5 separate regions of the Homo sapiens genome follow, and all the other regions are linked to region 2. Evidence: promoter capture Hi-C in 16 types of primary human blood cells and fetal thymus (Javierre and others, 2016). All regions are on one chromosome and are shown on one strand. Each heading gives the region's core, a stretch centred on a gene start or on the middle of the fragment in contact. The rest is flanking DNA. Distances are from core to core; before and after follow the strand shown.

Evidence for each region. The method cuts DNA at HindIII sites, captures the fragments that hold promoters and counts their contacts. A CHiCAGO score of 5 or more calls a contact.
Region 1: a contact is called between a fragment that was not itself captured here and the fragment with the promoter of LEP in region 2, in 13 of 17 cell types (M1 macrophages, naive CD4 T cells, total B cells and 10 more). The highest score is 10.8, in M1 macrophages.
Region 3: a fragment that was not itself captured here is called in contact with the fragment with the promoter of LEP in region 2 in 8 of 17 cell types (naive B cells, naive CD4 T cells, total CD8 T cells and 5 more); the score reaches 7.8 in naive B cells.
Region 4: a contact is called between a fragment that was not itself captured here and the fragment with the promoter of LEP in region 2, in 2 of 17 cell types (naive CD4 T cells and M1 macrophages). The highest score is 6.7, in naive CD4 T cells.
Region 5: a contact is called between a fragment that was not itself captured here and the fragment with the promoter of LEP in region 2, in 2 of 17 cell types (M1 macrophages and monocytes). The highest score is 5.5, in M1 macrophages.

Annotation. Positions count from the first base shown.
Region 1 is chr7:127,746,519-127,749,218 of GRCh38, reverse strand. All of the region lies in intron 10 of SND1 (staphylococcal nuclease and tudor domain containing 1), which reads right to left. Among named protein-coding and RNA genes, the nearest start is that of SND1, 96 kb to the right of the region's middle. The HindIII fragment of the contact is 1,579 bases long and covers 622-2,200 here.
Region 2 is chr7:128,239,896-128,242,595 of GRCh38, reverse strand. It overlaps LEP (leptin), which reads right to left and starts at 1,318. Exons shown (of 3, transcript NM_000230.3): 1 at 1,290-1,318. RefSeq lists a cis regulatory region at 1,364-1,372 and promoters at 1,290-1,536, 1,290-2,700. The HindIII fragment of the contact is 7,258 bases long and covers 1-2,700 here.
Region 3 is chr7:127,729,293-127,731,992 of GRCh38, reverse strand. All of the region lies in intron 10 of SND1 (staphylococcal nuclease and tudor domain containing 1), which reads right to left. Among named protein-coding and RNA genes, the nearest start is that of SND1, 78 kb to the right of the region's middle. The HindIII fragment of the contact is 1,753 bases long and covers 442-2,194 here.
Region 4 is chr7:127,762,869-127,765,568 of GRCh38, reverse strand. The region is part of intron 10 of SND1 (staphylococcal nuclease and tudor domain containing 1); the gene reads right to left. Among named protein-coding and RNA genes, the nearest start is that of SND1, 110 kb to the right of the region's middle. The HindIII fragment of the contact is 2,591 bases long and covers 1-2,570 here.
Region 5 is chr7:127,780,567-127,783,266 of GRCh38, reverse strand. The region is part of intron 10 of SND1 (staphylococcal nuclease and tudor domain containing 1); the gene reads right to left. Among named protein-coding and RNA genes, the nearest start is that of SND1, 130 kb to the right of the region's middle. The HindIII fragment of the contact is 4,942 bases long and covers 1-2,700 here.

The DNA.
Region 1 (2,700 bases), core at 162-2,661, 490 kb after region 2:
ACCCCATCTCTACAAAAAATTGCTGGGCTTGGTGGCTCATGCCTATAATCCCAGCTAGTTGGGAGGCTGACGCAGAAAGATCACCTGGGCCTGGGAGTTCAAGGCTGCAGTGAGCCATGATTGCACTACCTGGGTGACAGAGTGAGACCCTGTCTCAAAAAAAAAAAAAAAAAAACGAAAGAAAAAAATACATTAACATATCCATGTCTGCATATCCCCCTCCTACACAGATAATTCTGACTTCATGGGGGGTGCACAGCAGGAATCTGTTTTGTTACTGTTGCTATTTCTTGGTTTTGGGTGTTGTTTCTTTAAAGCTTCTCTGTGAGTCTATACTCAAGGTTTGGAGGCTACTAGTCCAAAAAAACTGTTTACTTCCAGCACCCACATAGGCCTGCACCTTCCATTCAGCTACCCTTCAAGACCTGCTTGAATGTCATTTCTTCTACTAAACCACCCTGTTCCACCCCATCCTGAAACACTTTCTCCTGCCTCTTAACAATTACAGCAGTTTCTAACAGACCAATTCATGTAGTTTTGTTCACTTTCTACTGAAGTAGGAATATGATTTCTAATGCGTATTTTCTTCTTACTTTTAAAAACATTTTGTGTGTTTAAGCTTATTGCTCAGTTAGGTTATAAATTCCTTTAGGGGAAGAAGAAATATTTCATCTCTTTCCTACTCTCACCAGATACTTAGTCCAATTCTCACTCATACTATTAGGGTATCTTGATTTTAAAATTACATCAGATTAATGATGCAATTCCGATCCAGACAATCAGACTTCATGACTACCAATTCAGACACACAACTACCAGCATACACCTGATTAATCTGATTCCGATCCAGAACCCAAAGGGGGATGAGCGTGTTCTGAAAGGACAGTACCTTGTACACAAGCATCCTAGGAAAAAGTGAAAGACCCAGTCTGGGTAAGCATACTATGGTATCACCGTTTGTGTGGAATCAAAAGGCAGGAAACAAGCTGTCAAGAGGAAGATACAGGAGACAAGGCCAGGCAAGCAAAACAAAGAATCACAGGCACAGTGGAGACAACATGGAATGATTCCCGTGAGTGTTAGATTCTCACTTCAATATCCTATTTTCATGCAAGTTTGTGTTTCCACTGGGCCAGAAACAAGGTGAACACTGACTTGGCCAGTTGGTAACCAAACATAAAAGAAAGACAGAAACAAACCAAGATGTTCTTGATCCAAAGCAATAACACATACATGGAGTAAAAGGGGTGGGAAGGGGGAACATTGACTACATTTGAGCCATCATCATACACAAACATACTAATCCTACAAGGATCAAGAAACCCTGTTCTCCCTTGTTGTCTTCTATAGTCTGTCCCTACACTAGACAAATAAAAAGCAAAGGAGGGAGAGAAAACCCAAGTAAGTGACAATACGACATGGTGACATTGACAATGGAAAGGCAAAAGTCACCTTTAGCTAAAGCACTGCTAAAAATTATTATAGTGGCATGTCCTGAAAAATTAATTCTTTAAGAAAATACCATGCTGTGGGCCTATACATGCAAGAGTCATTTCCTTAAAGCACTGATGTTCAGTCTTGTCAAATATGTCACAACCAGGTGCTGATAACTCCTGTCAGTAGAAAAAAACAATTTTTTCTAAAGGATCTTCCAGGCTGGACATGAAGTTTTTGGATTATCTGACTCCAATTTTCCTTCAAGACTGTAGCTAGAAAAATCATTCTTATCCAGAGAACTCATCCTCACAGAAAGGTCCTTCAATACCCAATGCCAATTCCTTGCAATACCATCTGAACCTTGAATAAAAACAATATAAAGCAGAAGCAGAAAGTACTTCAAGTCCATGATTCCTCAGAGAGACAAGGGCAGGAATTGCATAGGCAATCCCACACTCAACAGAGTCCTTTCCACAGCCACATGTGCTATTTATATCCAAACCATAGGATCCAGGGCCTTTGACAATTCATTTAATGATAGGGCACACCAGCGTCTCTATAATTTTCAAAGGAACAGAGATGTTTGTCACTTTGAAGAACTTGGTCGACCTGGAAAGTAGCCCTGCAAATCACATTTTTCCTTCATTTCTACATACAAATTCTAACTCTTCCACCCAAGCAACAACCTCCCTATACACAAGCAAAACATCTCATGCATGCTGAATGCAAAGGCATTTATTCTCAATTATCCCCAATGTAAGCTTTTTAAAAAATTAATAACAATAACAACAACGAGAAAACCAAAATGTGCTAGTAAAAAACACCTTGCCTCCAAGTTATACTGAATACAAACATTACTAGCATATGCTGACTACTTAAATGGCTAAGACTGAATGCTAGCAGCCTTACTTAGTCATATCTGCAGCTCACTACCATATGCTCAAAGTGGCCAGTCAGTGCTATGGACTGAAGGGGACCAGAGACTAGGCATCACATAAGCCAGGTATAAATAGGTATTTATACCTACAAAGGCCAGACATCAGTTTTCTAGCCTAAGACACCACCATACTCAAAAGATGAATGTTCATAGGAAGAAGGAATTAGTAAGAAAAGGCCGCCCACATAAAGCCAATCAAAATATCTCCCAATGAAATAAGGCACAGAAAATTGGAAAAGAGGGACATTTTCACCATACCAGCAGGATGCCTGTGGCGTTTCCATTCTTCCTTTCCTTCTCTAATGCCCTCCTCTGATGAGTCTGTG
Region 2 (2,700 bases), core at 69-2,568:
TCCACAACTGCTTGGGAAGGGAAAGAACCTAAAAGCATCCACTGTTTCTCTCTTGCCTTGTCTCCCTGCCTAAGTGAGAGAAATGATCAGTGTGGCCTTCTTGTTTCTAAGGGCATTAGAACAGGAGCACTCACGTTGCTAGAAGCCTCCATATCTGGTTCTGCAGACAATCCTAATATGAAAGAGATTGGCAAAATTCCCCAGTTCCAGCTGCCCATGGCCCACCTCAGAATCCTACAGAACAAACACAACTCCGGCTGCCAGAGGTCATTCTGCACTGCAAAGGAAGAGAGCCTGTGCTCCTGGAACGGTACCACCAAGTCTCTGCTCTTCACCCACCTCCCCAAAGATCACCCTTCCAACAGAAATTAATCACCTCTTGGAAGCTGCTATTCTGAAATGACAGCCAGGCCACTTGTCTCACTTGGACCTAACTGTATTTAAGGAGTCACTTTCCCAAAGCACCACTATCTTTAAACTATAGAAACAGGAGTGTAAAGGCGATGGCACCCACAGTGAAATCCAAACCAAGCCCAGACTGAAGGAAGGCTATAGGTGAGCCTGGTGGGCCAACAGCGCGTATTTAGCAGTCCTGGCTAGAAGTTCCCTAATAACCAGTTCTGACCCCCAGAGACACCTCATTGTATGCATTGCAAAGAAGGCAATTTGCATGGCTTTGAGGACAGATCTGGTAAGACCCTGCACAATTTCTCTGGAAGATTTTGAGTCTTCCTGACACTTGTTTCCCCCCACCTCTACTCATCCTTGCCTTCCTCCCAGGCATTGGCCTTACACAGCCCCTCTCATTCAGAGGTCAGGAACTTCCCTGGAAAATGAATCCTGAATTCCTACCCGCAGAGCAAGGCAATGTCTGGGACTGAGACTGATCACTTGCATCTGCGTCTCTCCTACCCCCAACTTTATCTCCTTCAGACTGGGGTGGGACATCCTGATCTTTGGGGATGTGCCCAAGGCAATTTCCAATGCATCTCAGCTCTGCGAATGCCACCAGGTTGGTGGGTCTGACAGTCTCCCAGGGACCTGGCTGGTTCTGCAAGGTCCTGCCTTCTGGGCACCGGCACAGCCCAGCAGCAAATCCAACGCTCCCCAGCTCCCGGTAACCTTCTATCTGGCTAGAACTCGGTACAAAGCTATCATAGTCCAGAACTAAGCCATCCGCCCTGCATCCCTCCTGACTCAGTTTCCCCGGGATCCAGAGTTGTGTGGGGCCCTGTGGCCTGCCAAGAAAGACCAGCAGAGAAGGAGGAAGGAGCGCGCCGGGGCCTTACCTTGCAACCGCTGGCGCTGCGATTCCTACGGGGCTCCATGCCTGCCCGCCCCTCTTATAGCGGCCCGATCACAACTTGCGCAACTGCCCCGCAGGCCCCGGCGCATTTCTAGCGCCAGCTCCCGCCCCGCCCCTCAGGGTAGCGACGTGCCGGGCGGCTGCTAGCCCTGGGCCCGCAGTGTGCACCTCGCGGGGCCTCGAGGGAGGGCCTCGGCGCGCCAGGAGCCACGCGCGCACCCTTGGGTACCTCCCAAAAATTTGGGGGTGGCTGGTAGGAGCGAGAAATCCTTGATGTCCCTCCAGAGGCTCCGGCGCGACTATGGCGCAAGGACCAGCCCCTTGGGAAGGTGCTTCGAGCCGCGCGGGGCGCGGTCGGGGCGGGGGTGGCTGTGAGGGGCTCCGCGGAGCGGGCTGGGGCATACGGCTGCGCCCTCGTTGGTCCTGGCGCGGCTTCGGGGTGGGAGCGAATCGGGACTCGGCCCCGACGGCCCTGGACGCCAGGGAAGCCCAGGGTTAGAGGGAGCGGCCCGCAGTGCGCCAGGCTCCCCGACCCAGATTGCGGGGTTGGGGGTTCTGAAGTCCCACCCCTTCTCTGGCACGCGGAGAATCGAGTTCCAAGCCTCAGGGCAAGTTGTCTCTGGCTGGCACCCCAGGGAGTGCACGCTCTCTGGAGGGCTCCAGGCGGGCACTGTGGCCTTTGGGGACACTCTGGACATACTGTGGGTCTCCATCCTCAACTCCGTATTTCCTACGTACAAAGTGGGGGTTGGGGGGTGGTCCCAGATGTAGCCACGTTTTTGTCATCATAGCCTGTGAGTGGTGTGGTAGGCATGTTTCACCTGTATCGTTTGTAGTTCCCCGCTTTACATGATGGGTTGGTTTGTTTTGTTTTGTTTTGTTTTGTTTTACCCTTGGGCTTCAGGGATGAGGAATCTAAGGTCCAGCGAGGTTAAATGACTTTCCTTAGAATCCACAGCTGGTAAGGAATAGCAATGGGCTAGGAACCCAGGCCTATTCTGGTCCCCACTGCGCAGAGCAGCTCCAAAAACAAACCACTCCATTGAGAACCAACCCAGCCAGGCGTGGTAGCTCAAGCCTGTAATCCCAGCACTTTGGGAGGCCAAGGTGGGTGGATCACCTGAGGTCAGGATTTCGAGACCAGCCTGGCCAACATGGTGAAACCTCATCTCTACTAAAAATACAAAATTAGCCAGGTGTGGTGGTGAGTGTCTGTAATCCCAGCTACTTGAGAGGCTGAGGCAGGAGAATGGCTTGAACCTGGGAAGTGGAGGTTGCAGTGAGCCAAGATCAGACCATTGCACTACAGCCTGGGCAACAAGAGTGAAACTCTGTCTCAATAAAAAAAACAAAACAAAACAAAACCCATAACATAAAGCGGGGAACTGCAAATG
Region 3 (2,700 bases), core at 69-2,568, 510 kb after region 2:
AGAGACATTCAACACCATTAGCTTCTGCCCTGAGAATGCACTTCTTACTGGGTGATGGGGGTGAGAGATGAAAGGTTATAGGATTTTATCACACTGAGTTTCCAGTTTGTCAGGTTCCGTCTACGGTATCAGGTACTCTGGGACTAATTTGTATCTTTTAGGATTGAGACATATCTCTCCAGCAGAGCCCCAGTGACGGTTCTCTACCTGCTAGATTTTATGGATATCTAATAATAACAACAATGGGTCCAAAAGCTGTTATTAACTGGCTTCTCACTGGAGGAGCTTCTGTTCTCCTGAACTCTGACAGTGCTGAGGCTATGCACCTCCGGAAGAAGGGTAACTTGGCAGGCAAACAGGAGTGTCTAGGCTGAAAGAACCAGTCAGTCCTCTGAGGGAAGACTGGGAGGAGTGAGGGAAGGAAGGTAAAGCCAAAAAGCTTTAGGAGAGTGAAGAGGCAGGCAGCCACGGGGCAATCTGCGAAGGAAGGACAGAGCCTGGCTCAAGCAGCTGTGAGGAACCCTGCATGTTTTCCTGAGGAAAACGTTGAGCCGGCTACGTTGAAAGGAACAGCTAAGGGCTGGGCTAGCTTCTTTCCCCTTTATAAGAAATAGAAATAAATAAAATAAGCTGCTTTGAGCGATGTCAAGTCTCCCTCCTCTTAAAGTACAAACTGGCCTAATAATCCTGAATGTCCCAATGGCCAAAACCAGCATATGGAACTGTCTGCCAATTCTCCTGTGCAGAGCACAGTGCACTCGCTCACAGCAGCTGCGGTATGAAGTAGAGGAAAGGGGGTCCAACCAGAATCGGGCGGGCAGTGCCCCCACCCATGGCGACCATGCCTCAGGCCAGAAAGAGCCTAAGGGAGACGGGAGGCTGGAAGGGGAGCCCTGGCTACGCAGCTCCTCCCAGACCTCCACCTACCGCTTCCGCATGCCAGTCGTTCTAAAACAAGCCTCTCCAGCTGGAGAAGCAGATGCTGCTAAAGGCAGCTCCATACGAATATGAATGTGGCTTTCTCCTAATTGTGGCCCACCTTACAAAAGACAACAGCATGTGAAAAAAGTCCCGCGTTCCCAGTAGTGATGAGGAACATGTCCTAGGAAAGGCAGAGTGGTAGAATCAGAAAGCCAAGTGTCAGCATATTCTGCCCATCCCTATATCCCCAAACTATGAATAATGAGTAAAGGCCCCCAGTGAGGATGCAATGAGACACTATCTAACACCTGAGTATCAACTATGTGCTAGACATTTAGTTAGCAACAGATCTGAAGAAATGACAAATCTACATGACCCAGAAAAATCAAACTGAGTAGAGAAGGAGAAAAAAATGCAGAAAACAATGAAAAAGTATTTTACAGCAGAACTACAGGCGTCCATCATGTGGGCTATCCAGAACCAGCAGGACAGCAGAGGTAAGCAGATTCTGAGACCAATGTCTGAACACACATAAAGGGGATATTTCTGCTTATCCACACTAATTGCCCAATAAAGTGAAACAAGGATGAAGGCTATTACATCAAGTGGCTTCTAGCAGAGAAATGAAAAGGCAAGGAAGACAAAGTCTCCAGAATGTCTTCACAGCTAAACTGAATAGAGACCCTACTGTGAAACAGCAATACTCCTTGGTGGCCACCAATACACTACTAAACCAGGCAAAGGCATTTGCCAAAAACAGACGGATATCAGAGTAGATGGTGAGACTAAGAGCTGTCCAATGTCAGGCTGGGCGCGGTGGCTCACACCTGTAATCCCAGCACTTTGGGAAGCCGGGGCGGGTGGATCACCTGAGGTCGGAGTTTGAGACCAGCCTAACCAACATGGAGAAACACCATCTCTACTAAAAATACAAAATTAGCTGGATGTGGTGGCTCATGCCTGTAATCCCAGCTACTCGGGAGGCTGAGACAGGAGAATCGCTTGAAGGCAGAGGCAGAGGCAGAGGCTGTGGTGACCCGAGATCGCCACATTGCACTACAGCCTGGGCAACAAGAGCGAGACTTCGTCTCAAATAAATAAATAAATAAAGAGCTGTCCAATGTGAACAGCCCATAAATTGACCGTAGATTTTCAGAGGAAGGCTAAAATGAAAAGTGACATCAAAAATATGCCTAAGCAATTGGCCTGTCATCTGGTAGGGAAATCATTTGTGTCCTTCAGCTTCCCATTCCAGTCTCGGTTATGAAAAGCTTTTTTCTAGAACAGTGACAGAAATGATGCTGCTTCATCCATAATCCATCATCCAGTCTAAAGTCTACCTGGTGACCGACCACAACACACACACATACTTGTCAGGATTAGAGATATGGATCCTAAAATTATAAACACCTTATTCATAAAAATAATTTCCCAGACCTACAGTGCCTAAAGTACACAAGGAACTTAAATGTTTGGTTTCTGAATTGCACAAAATTTTCCCAGTACAAAGCTAATTAGCCCACCAAGGAATGAAACCTACAGCCCAGCCTGCAAAAATGCGAAGCACTGGATGACTGCACTAAACTTGCCTTGAATATAAATGTTATGTAAAAAAAAAAAAAAAAAAAAAAAGTAATTTATCTAAACACAGTGTAGGTAGCTCTGCAATCAGTATCTCATAAATAAAAGAGAAAGATGAAGGGAGAGATCTCTAATTGATTTTAAAATTAGTTCCAAGCAAAGAAATAATCTGACAACCAACAAGGTCGACAACAGTAA
Region 4 (2,700 bases), core at 26-2,525, 480 kb after region 2:
CAGCACTTACAAGAGATTGAGAAAAATGGACAGACAGATGTTGTTAGTATCAAGTTTTACCAATTACTAAGGGCCTAATGTTGCCACACGATTCTGTGATATTTTACTATTCTCACTGTGCACAGAGCTTAAGGGGCTTCCTCAAACACAAAGAAGATGTCTGAGTGAGACATATGTCTGAGTGAGACGTGCCAATCACAAATACTTGCATGAGGATCTGTATTCTAACATATCACCACAAATAGTCAAAACCAGCCAGGTTCATTTTTTTTAAATGCAAATCAGAAATGCTCAATGGTTGACTGTTAAATGAAAATCTGCAAGATTCTGGGCAATTCCTCGACCTCTGAGCTCACTGAGGGTAAACATCACAAAAAGTCTCTTGTTGCTACTTTTCTAATAAAGACCACTACAGAGTCCAGTGGCATCATGGTGTGTTCCTAGATGTCATTTGTAGTCAAAATTGAAAATAATCACCTAACTGATTCTGATGGTCTTCTCATAAATTCCTCTTTAGTCTCCCAAAGAGAATGTTACCAACTCGTTGCAAAAATCAGGCTTTAATCTCCTCCCATTCATCAACAGCGACACCAACCCCCATCTCTATTCAAGGGGGAAACCATCTGCAATAGTTCCGCCCGATTTCCCCTGAAATTTTAGCTTCCACTGCCTGGTTTCTGAACCCTCAGCAATGGGAGCAATTTACCTCGATCGACTTCACCAGTCACTGTTGCAATTTAGCTAAGACATTTCCCAGGGGCCCATTAGAAAAGGTTCCAATTTGAAAAACTCACATCTGATCCTTCAAACCAGTCCTGGAAACATTATTTGGTACCAAGTTAGACATTATTCTTTTTCAGATTCCAAATCCTTTACTTTGACACAGAAATGCAAATGGGAAATTTAAAAAGACAGCATTTCTGAAAATCAGCTCAACGAAAACTCAAATACACAAACATTAAAAGATATTCTGATAATAAGCACAGCCTGCCACATCGGTGTCAAAGTTCTGATTTGGTTTGGTTTTGTTACTCTACTCTATGCAGGCAAACTAAAGATGGCAGCCTAGGGCAGAGGAAGCCTTCAGCAGCATCTGCAATACAGCAACACCACAAACTTAATGAGCATGGAGTTCCTTCCAGAGTTAAGGACCATGAAAAGCCAAATTGCACTATTAAAATACTTCGCATTCACACACACACTGTACCTACTCAGTGGAGCTAACCAAAAGAGATGTGGAAGTGGAAGTACACATAATGTGTGGGAATGGCCACAGGGTAGGTGATAGCTCCTATGGCAAAAGAAACAAAAAGTGTTTTTTATTATCAATAAGTAAAAAGTCAATGGCAACCTTCAGTTTGCTCTTATGAAATCGCTAATATTCAGTTTAGAATTACATACTATCCCATAAAAAATTGTATCATTATTTGAAATTAATAGGAATCAGCAATGTATGTCAGTAGGTTTCAATTTATGCTTTTCTTTCTCTTGGGTTTTTTGTTTTTTTGTTTTTTTGTTTTTTTTTTTTTTGCGACAGGGTCTTGCTCTGTCACCCCAGCTGGAGTGCAGTGGCTCAGTCATAGCTCACTGCAACCACCTCAGCCTCCAAAGTAGCTGGGACTGCAAGCATGCACCATCACATCCAGCTGATTTGTTTTAATCTTGAGTAGAGACAGTGTCTCACTATGCTGAGGCAATCCTCCTCCCTCAGTCTCCCCAAATACTGAGATTACAGGCATTAGCCACCATGTCTGCCTGGCCCTACGCTTTTCTAGAATACTAGTGCTTCTGAAACATAATGCAGAAAAAGTATCCTCATAACTACTTAAAATAAGAATGATACCAAAAACTAAGTTAGTAAATAGAATAGTCCTGGGTTTTTTTGTCCGTAAGTTTTTCCTTAAAAAAAAGATCACCTGCTGTCAATTATCAATAAATCAATTTAACAAGTATCATATTATTATTAATAGAAATAAATGGAAACAAAAATCATGCTCAGTTTGAGACCAGCCTAGGCAACAAAGTGAGACCCTATCTCTTCAAAAAATAAAAAAATTAGCTGGGCATGGTAGTGTGCACCCGTAGTCCTAACTACTTGAAAGGCTGAGGCAGGAGTATCTCTTGAGCCCAGAACATCAAGGCTGCAATGAGCTGTGATTTTGCCACTGCACTCCAGCCTGGGCAACAGAGCAAGACTCTGTCTCAAAAAAAATTAATTTGACTGAATGTATATATATGATGTGCACATATGCTTGATTTTATGAGACAGGTCTCACTATGTTACTCAGACTGGTCTCGAATTTCTGAGTGCAAAGAACTCGAGTAGCTAGGACTACAAGTGTGCACCAACATGTCCAGCCTCACATGCTTGATTTTAAGTAACATTTATATATATTTTATACCAGAATTATTCCAGATTAGAATGACAGCATTACATATTTCTATGTGACATGAGTTCTAGGAGTTTTGTCACCTGAATGTGCTCACTATTCCCCTATTTCTGGCTATTTAGACTGTTTCTACCTTTTCTGAGAGGCCAGGTTACAGTAAACATCTTTAGGCACAAAGCTTGGCTCTTCCTTTAAATCCTTTCCTTAGAATTTTCAGAGGTGGACTACCCTGATACAGATTATGTACATTTGATGAAGTTACCTACATATTTAGCCAGCTTGACTGCATGGTCCCAAACAGCAAAACATG
Region 5 (2,700 bases), core at 33-2,532, 460 kb after region 2:
CCACTGAAGAGTTTAGGTAACAGCTGTCAGATTTCACTTCTGTAATAGCAGGCACATCTGGTTCAACGTCTGTTGAACAGTAACCATGGCTCTACATACCCAAATGAAAAGGGGTGCCACACTAGAAGGTGACTCATGCAATCCTCAGAAGGCATGTGATAACTAACTACCCTTTAAAGGAAATATATCCAGAATTGATATCTGTCCCCAATTTCCAATGTGCAGAATCTTACCATGAGTCCCCATTCTCCTGCAGCATGTTTGCTGAATTAAAGAGGAAATCACTGCCACATACATTACTACACTAGGTGTTGCAATAGGTCTACTTCCTATTTAGGAAAATGGGGAGGAAGATAATGCTTCACTTGCTGGGCAGTTGTAGTCTTCAGCATTTCTATAACGAATACACATACAGCAGTTGAAAAACTCAGTCCAGGCCACTGGAAAAGGTCAGTGGTGAAGCAGACAACCCTCACTCTCCCTGCCCCCACTACAGCTACTCATGATGGCCAGAAGCTCCAGTGTGCCCAACCCACAATCACACACAGAGGTCTACAGCCCTGCTTTGCAGAGGGAGGAGCCAAGTGTTCCAAGTAAGGTTTGGTTACTTTCTTTAACTTCCATACAACTTTAAAGACCTAAAAGGCTGACTGCATCATGACTCTCTTGCCAAATTAAAAATCATTATTCTGTAGAATAGCCAATTAAATTCTACTTTCAGCGAACTAACAACACATCTCTGCCCCCCAAAGGATTGTAACCTATGACAGAATGAGGCTTAAATAGAAAAATAAGCTCCCCAGGCTGTTTAATGATGCCTTAACATGAAAAGAAATACATTCCTCATCTGAAGACCAGTTATCTTATCAGAGTCCCTGGCAAAAGGCAGTGCAGGCCAATGTGAGAATGCAGGACCCCAGGACTGCTTTTCAAACTCATGCACATATATCACAGAAACCACTATTGTGATTAGGATCCTATTAAATTAACTTCCCTTTTCTGCCTGGAAAACAACCAGACCTCAACTGTGATCATCCTCAACAACCACAAAGGAGGTCAGTGTGTTTAGATTAATCTCCCCTGCTTGGGAGAGACAATCAAGAAACAATAGGAAGTCAGACAGGTAAATAAGGCACTGGACTAAGAATAGTTACTGAGGATCCAGCCAGGCAGGGCATGAAACTATTCTCTGCCTCCTCAAAGATATGCAACCTAACTAGGATCAGATATTACAGCTTGATCATCAAGAAACTGGTCACCACTCAGATTAATTGTATATAACCCAAGCGAAAATTTTATGGGATGTTGTCTTAAGTGAAAAAGGGGAATCTGGACTAAGTACTGCAAATAATTATACCAAAGTTCAGTATCTTGGGCTTCCCCTCTATGAAACGATTACTGGGAATAATCCAGGTAATTATTCTCATGTATTCTATGAGATTACAAATCTGAACATGCTTTGGAACATTTTCATTATTACTGAATTGACATTTCATTATGATTGCTTTTACTTTAATTATTAATAACAGAAGGAAAAGCTCTATCAAATATATAAGCATCTGGCTAATTTGCTCTAAGGTTAGCAAAAAGATATTCCTTGGCTAAAAGGAAGGACTTATAAATCAAACCATGAAACAAGGTTCAGAACCGGATTTCTATTCCAAGTGGAAAAAAAAAAATCAAATGAACAAAAAAGTTTCTTCTTCCTTTCTTAACTCCTATGGAGCCAAAGCACTGCTATTGTCTCTGCCCCAGCAACTTGGCATAACTGGGAGGAGTTACAATTATAAAGAAAAGTCAATATCACAAGGCAATAAAATCAGTTTTCCATTTTTCTCGATGAATTCTGTGTTCAATTATATATATTAGTATAATGAAGGGGGGGCGGGGAGGAACGATGATTGCCACATAGTGAAGGCAGCTTCAACAAGAACCAGCTAAGTCACTTGCAAGCCATGTGTGGAAATACTAATAATAACGTATTACTTCTATGGTGAACTAATTGGTCTCTTCATTTTTATAAGGTCATAGGATCACAGGGTCTGTGGGTTGGATGAGAACTTCAAAGTCTTTTAAGTTCAGCTTCCCATGTACTGTAAAATCTTCTCCATGTTCCTACCTTCTCCTGAAGCAGCTCACTCTCTTCTACCAGACACTTTTCTTAGAAAGTTATTTTCTTCACATTGAGCAGAAATATGTTCCCATATATCTGATCCTACTTTTATTCTTTGATGTCCCGCAGAACAAACCTAGTCATCTTTCTCACTGACTAGGCAATATTACAGTGTCTCTGCAATGCAGCCTAACAAAGAGGTCATAAAACTTGAGTTTTCCGTAGCTCAGAAGAATTCTAAATGCTGCCAAAATCATAAAGAATTCACTTTTCAGCCATAGGACACCTTAGGCAACTAAATCCCCAGTGCACTGTGAAACTCATTCTTTAGGAGATAGACTGCCTGGTGCTCTAAATGACCAAATAGGATAAAAAGGGATCTAAAATAAAAAATTTCTTCTTCTCATTGTCTAATTTGCCTGTTAAGGCACTGAAGCAATTCTAGCAAAAGAGAAAAGAACAATGGCGTCATTATGATTAGTGAGCAAAACCCTAAACAGAGAACACTGGGACAGGCTTTCATTAAGTCAAGAAGAAAAATTACAAAGGAAGCTCTCTTTGAAGAGGCAGGTGATTCTAAGTCCAAA